2 separate regions of the Homo sapiens genome follow, and region 2 is linked to region 1. The links are contacts of gene promoters, found by promoter capture Hi-C in blood cells and fetal thymus (Javierre and others, 2016). All regions are on one chromosome and are shown on one strand. Each heading gives the region's core, a stretch centred on a gene start or on the middle of the fragment in contact. The rest is flanking DNA. Distances are from core to core; before and after follow the strand shown.

What was found. The method cuts DNA at HindIII sites, captures the fragments that hold promoters and counts their contacts. A CHiCAGO score of 5 or more calls a contact.
Region 2: a fragment that was not itself captured here is called in contact with the fragment with the promoter of AGL in region 1 in 1 of 17 cell types (fetal thymus); the score reaches 5.2 in fetal thymus.

Annotation. Positions count from the first base shown.
Region 1 is chr1:99,848,626-99,851,971 of GRCh38, forward strand. AGL (amylo-alpha-1,6-glucosidase and 4-alpha-glucanotransferase) reads left to right here and starts at 1,736. Exons shown (of 34, transcript NM_000642.3): 1 at 1,736-1,790; 2 at 2,350-2,499. The coding sequence starts at 2,418. RefSeq lists enhancers at 882-1,856, 1,057-1,206, 1,857-2,830 and a silencer at 1,387-1,706. The HindIII fragment of the contact is 4,640 bases long and covers 1-3,346 here.
Region 2 is chr1:100,378,894-100,382,239 of GRCh38, forward strand. All of the region lies in intron 3 of CDC14A (cell division cycle 14A), which reads left to right. Among named protein-coding and RNA genes, the nearest start is that of CDC14A, 28 kb to the left of the region's middle. The HindIII fragment of the contact is 1,445 bases long and covers 1,159-2,603 here.

The DNA.
Region 1 (3,346 bases), core at 486-2,985:
ATGTCACTCCTCTGTTCAAAATCTCCATGGCTTTTTTTCCAAAGTTTAAAAGCCCAAGTCCTTGCAATGGCCTACAAAGCCTTAAAAGATCTGGTCACCCGTCTGTGCTCCTGATCCCTTCTCCTGCCCCATCTGTCTGTCCTAATCTCTTACCACTCTCTTCTTCACTCAGCTATGGTGATCTTCTTCGGTTCACCAAGTATGCTCCTGCCTCATGGCCTTTGTACTTCCTATACCTCTACATGTAACCCTCTACCTTAGACTTCTTCTTTCTCGCAGTTTGGCATCACTTTACTGAACGTTATATTTAGAAATGCAAACCTCTCTCTGCTTACTCTTCCACACTTCCCCCTTCCTATTATATATAGGATATAACATATCCTTCTTATTATATAGGATATATTATATCCTGTATAATTTATTTAATTTATCTGTCTCCCACCAATAAAATGTAGGAGTTCCTTGAGGGCAGTGACTGTTTTATTGCTGCATTCCCAGCACCTTATGTGCCTGGCAAATAGTAGGGGCCAGAAAATGAGCTGTGGGTTCCCAAAGTCAGTTACGGACCATTTGCAACTAGCCATTCTCAGAAATCTACAGAAATAAACAAATACTTCAGTATGGGGTTTTTTTTTTTAACTTATATCCTCTTTGGACCTACAGTCATTCCACAATAAAGAATGCAAGAATCTTCTCCACACGCCACAAGTCTTAGTTAACCAAATCTTCTGTCCATTTTCTCATAACCATTAGGAGCCCTCCAAAAGCCCTGGAAGATGGGTTTTCCTTTACCCTCAGGCATTAAATCTCCTTAAGCATCTGCAAAAAGTTCTGAGTTACTGGCCTAACATAAGTGCAGCTTAATCTCAGACGATCTCCGGGTCTATCTAGTGTACATGAGGTACACCCGGACACCGTTAAGTATCAGTGGTGTTTGCACTCTCGATGGTTTGCAGACTGGCCACACCTTACCTACTGGGTCTGCATTCAGGAACATGTGTCCTGTCTGTTAGCACTAGAAGTGATGGACACGTGTTGGCTGGAATGTCAAGGCTGTAGCCAGGCCCCTTATTTTAGACACTTAGAAATCAGGACTCTGAGAACTTAGGCCAAGTAAAAATTATCAAAACAAAGAAACAAAACACGTGGTGGCACAAAAGACACCAGAAGCCAGGTCGTTTGCCCCTCACCATTCAGCCCTTCCCAGCAAAAGATCCTACTGTGCAGCTCAACCTAGCTCGCAGCCGGTACCGCGGGATTTTAATGTGCAACTGTGAGCTCGCAGGCTGTTAAAGGAAGGCCGCGCCTTGGCCGGTGCACCTTCCCCAGGGCAAGGAGAAAGCGCCGCTCCCGGCCTCAGCCGCAGCAGGCTCCAGGTCCCCCGGCCCGGAGCCGACTGAGACGGTGCGGTGCCCACGCTCTCGCGAGACTAGCGGTCGGGGCGGGCGGGTCGAGCCTCCCGGAAGTGGGCCAGAGGTACGGTCCGCTCCCACCTGGGGCGAGTGCGCGCACGGCCAGGTTGGGTACCGGGTGCGCCCAGGAACCCGCGCGAGGCGAAGTCGCTGAGACTCTGCCTGCTTCTCACCCAGCTGCCTCGGCGCTGCCCCGGTCGCTCGCCGCCCCTCCCTTTGCCCTTCACGGCGCCCGGCCCTCCTTGGGCTGCGGCTTCTGTGCGAGGCTGGGCAGCCAGCCCTTCCCCTTCTGTTTCTCCCCGTCCCCTCCCCCCGACCGTAGCACCAGAGTCGCGGGTCCTGCAGTGCCCCAGAAGCCGCACGTATAACTCCCTCGGCGTAAGTGCTAGGAATGCCGCTGGCCTCGCGGGGAAACGCATTCTTTCTATCTATAGCTCGCTCTGTACATCTTCTGTCTACGGCAGCTATTCCAGAGGCAACAACTGCTTCCCTCTGTTCTCATCTCCCCATTGGTGGCTGGCGACCCGAATTTGGGAATGGGGAGATTGCCCACCTGTTATCTTTGAGCAGACTAATCTCTTGTAAGCAGAAGTGCCATTCGGAGTCTCCAGAGCCCTGTGGCTTGGGGCTGGGAATGTCCCCCTGACTTCAGGCTTTCCTAAGTGTATTGCTTTTCTCTGAGAATGGTCTAGGTTTTTAATTTTTTAATTGTAAGAATCTGTAATACAGCATTTTTATTTCGGTCTTATTCGTTGTGCTCAAAGGCAGGAAACAACTATTAATTTGCCTTCTCGAATCTTAATAGTTATAAGATTCATTCTCTTTCATTGCTCTGCTAGGCATAAAACACACTTCGAACATGTAAGTGCCGCTGTCAGCTCTGGAGAGTTTAAGGCAATAGTTATTTTCGATATTTTAACTCCTTTTTGTTTCATAGGGGTAACTCATTCGACTGTGGAGTTCTTTTAATTCTTATGAAAGATTTCAAATCCTCTAGAAGCCAAAATGGGACACAGTAAACAGATTCGAATTTTACTTCTGAACGAAATGGAGAAACTGGAAAAGACCCTCTTCAGACTTGAACAAGGTCAGTAGCAAGTTGTTTTGATTTGCTCATTTGCGTCTTTTAAACTTTTAATTCATTGGCAGTCCTGTTAAATGTTTTAAAGCTCTAAGATAAATATTATTTCCAAGGGTCTAAAACTTGATTTGTGCAAAGATGGTGCTGTGTTCTCCATATATCACTAATTAATGTTGATTTGAATTAAAAATATTTTATATCCCTCGTGTTAGGATAAGGATAAAATAGTTCTCTTTTCTCTGCGTACTAATTCCCACTTAAGATTGAAGTTAAATATATGATCAGAAGATTGCCCATATTATTTCTAATAACATTTACTATTAAAACTTGGTAAATTACTTCATATGTAATTTTGCTTTGGGTATGCATGTAGTTTTGCCTTTGTATAACTGTCTCTTTTCCTTTGTTGAACCTTTGAATTGACAAAATAGATTGCAGCAAAAAGTATAGTAAACTATTGTTTATGTATATCAAAAACTTCTCAAATGTGGAGTAGGTAAAAGCTGAAAATATTTTCTTAGCAAATAAAAAGTGCAATAACTCATCTGGTTATGTTGAACTATATATAGTTGATCTGTATTTAAAAGATCAAATTACTTTTCTACAAGGCTAGTTAATAGATGTTTTATTTTCTTAGCCTTTGTAATTTTTCAACATTGAAGAAGTGTAATATATGAAAAATCCAGTCCCCCTTATTAATGTACCAAATGGATGTTGCTAGTCATAAACATTTCAAAGGAATTTTTAAATTTCGCTAATGTTTTAAGAATTAAATTTTTGAAAAAAATTTCACACATACAATGTGATATCTTCATGCCAAATCCGCGCCTTTTTCCAACTTTGGCATTTAAAA
Region 2 (3,346 bases), core at 631-3,130, 530 kb after region 1:
AATAGAGGTTTTTGCAATCACCTAGGAAGTAAATAATATCCTTTTTATAGAAAATGAACTTTTAATGGCTGAGTAAACAAGAAAAGGATAATTAATAAATAATGGAAGTCTATTTTTTTCTTTTGAAGACCAAGGAATTTCTTTGCTGTCTTGATTAGTCATTAGTATGTAGTTGGTATGAATTGGGTATTATAATTAATCTGGGAACCGAGTACTATCTAGGGTAGCCAAAGAGAAAGGAGTCATTATCAGGAAAGTAAAATCACTGGTCTGACTCAGTGTTCTACTTATAGCAGTTGCAGAAGAGTAGATGGGTTGAGTTGAGAGTATTTTTTCTACCATTTTCTACACTGAACAGTATGGTAAGTATATGTATGTAAACTTGTTTCTATTTGCTTTCATTTATAATGCTGTGTTTCGACATTATTAATAAAGTTTAAACACTCTCCTTGGTTCATTTTAGTGGTAAGGTAATCTGTTGGTTGTCTGGAATGACATATGTAGCTTTAGGACAATTAATGGGCACTGCATTACTTGCTGAATGATTGAATTTTAAAAACCCAAATGTTGATAAGTCATGAGTTGTCTCAATGAAGCATACTACATAGAATCTCTAATTAGGAGAAAAAGATTTACTGTACCAGTCCAAAGTTGGAATTGCTTCAGTTTTGTGGAATCTTAGTTTCTTCATCTGTAAAATAGGAATTATAGAACTGTCACAGGGTGGTGGTTAGTATTATATTAGAAAACATGTCTTAGTCTGTTTTGCATTGCTATAAAGGAATACCAGAGGCTAGGTAATTTATAAAGAAAAGAGTTTTATATAGCTCATGGTTCCACAGGCTGTACATGAATCGTGGCACCAACATCTGCTTCTGGTGAGTCCCTCAGGAAGCTTTCACTCAAGGCAGAAGGTCAAGGGGAACAGTCATGTCATATGGCAAGAGAGGGAGCAAGGGAGAGGGGAGGGAGGTGCCACACTCTTTTTAACAACAAAATCTTGGGGGAACTAAGAGTGAAAACCCACTCAATCCCCTCAGAATGGCACCGAGCCGTTCATGAGGGATCTGCCCCCATGACCCAAGGCCCCACCTCTTAACACTGGGGATCACGTGAGATTTGGAGAGGACAAATATCCAAACTATATCAATATGTAAAAGCTTTGTACATTTTAAAGTCCTATACATAATAAAGTTACCAATGTAACATTTGTGAATTCTGATAGGGAATATAATAAAGACAGTTCTTCTACAAAATCGATGAACACCTGTTTCTCAGCCTTAAAGCTATTGTTTATATATGGGAAAGCTGTCCAATATAATTTTAGGAATCTAAATGACCATTTAGTCAAGACTCAGAAAGGGAAGCCTGGGAAAGGTGTGTGACTTGCCCAGTGCAGCAGGCAAAGTCAGGGCTAGATTTCATGGCTCTTGACCACATTTTTCCTGTTCTTCTTTCCACCTTCAGTAGGAACCATAGCCTCTGGTTTACAGTCATCCTTTGTTCACTCTTAGCATTGCCCCAGCTACCTGACCTTGTTGTCCCACGCTGACTTTGAGGCTCCTCTGCCTCTTTCATTCCAGTAAGTGTTAGGGCCATTCTGTCTGCTTCACTTCCACGAACCCAGACTCCAGATTCTCCCACTTGGAAAATGCCTTTGTTACTCACTTTGCACATTCTGTCCCTCTCACACTACTGGGATTGCTAGACCTTCAGTCTCCCTGTTCTCTCAGTCCACTGGCACCCTGCTGATGTCTCTTGCCTGCAGCCCATGGTCACTTACTTCAGTAAGGTCTTGGGTACTTTGCTTTCTTGTCTTTCTGCCTTGCCAGCTCTCACCCTTGTTGTTTTCCCAGTGGATGATTTCATGCACTAATTTACTGGGAAGCAGCAGTACCCTTGCCACTCCCAGCCTTGCACTTTACTCTACCATACCAGCTGTTCCATGCATTTGCTCATGAAGACCAGTCTGACTGGGATGCCCTTACCCTCTGGCTTGATAGCTCTTCATTCTTTAATACCTTGTCCAGCCACCACCCTTTAGGAAGCATCTTCTTGTCCTTTTGGACTGGATTGAGGGTGCCTCCCTTGTTTTCCCATCATTCTCTGTGCAGATCTGTATCGTTGATGAATTGTAATTACCTGTTTGCACCTGTCATTCTCACTAGACTATGAGCTTCTAGAGGGTGGAAGGTGGAGGATGTCATGTATCTTTGTGTTCTCAGTGCCTAGTGCAGGGACAACAGACACACAGAGACTTCTTTTGACTTTGTCATGATCCCCTTCATTTGCAGATCCCCCTTTCTCCTTTTGCTTCCAGAGGTTTCAGAAGAAGAGCCTGCCTCCATCCTTCCTGTGTGCTGATTTCTTAACCCTTTGTTATCTAACTTTTGCCTTCCCTACTCTACCGAAACTGCTCTAATAACGTCTTAAATGCTGAATCTGATGGCACTTGCTGGATCCTCAAACTCCTTTACTTCTCTGAGTAATTTCGCACTGTGTTAACTAGTAACTTCGTCTTAGGATTCTTCTCTTGTGTGATTTCCCAGTTCTTTTAGGCACATTTCATTTTTTAGTTTGGAAATTTTTATTCCTTCCAAGAAAGCTTGTGTGATTTTTCTTCCTCATTCTGTGCTTTATATAGATAGGTAATATTTTGCTGTACATTTTATTCCAATCCCAAATTTCTCATTTTTGAAATGAGAAGATGTTTTTTTCCAGTTGATGATTTGAGTTGGTGATTTATCGCTATTTTTGTGTTTCTGTGTCTATATGCATTCTATTCCCAATGTCCTTATTTTAATTATGTCAATCAGAATGGAAAATTATCCCATCAAACATATGCTTAGATTAAAAATCCAAACATAAAATGCATCATCACCAATAAAAAACCTGCTGCTTATTTAAACTGTACTTTAAAAAATTGTCAGTACTAGGAATTAGGCAGTAATAGGTTGCTGTTTGGTCTTTCCCCTAGGATAGGGGAAGCAATCAAAAGAGGGAAGATGCATTGAAGTGAGAACAATTTGTTAAACTGTGTATGTTATTTAATGTTAAATGTCATCAATGATTGATAGCCTTGAGCTGGAATTATTATTCTGGTAATTCAAGGGATCCATAAACCCTTGAAATTATACAATTTTGTATGTATTTACATTTTTCTTCTGGGAGGATTCATGGCTTTTTTTCAGGTTCTCAGAGGGATCCTTGACACAGACATGCTAAGAACACTGGGCTAAAGTCTTCTGAAAAAGAAGACTTTACTAACAAAAGACAAAGTTGTGGTATTTTGAAAAAACTGAATACCTTCCTCTATTCTTTTTTTTTTTTTTTTTTTTTTGAGAGG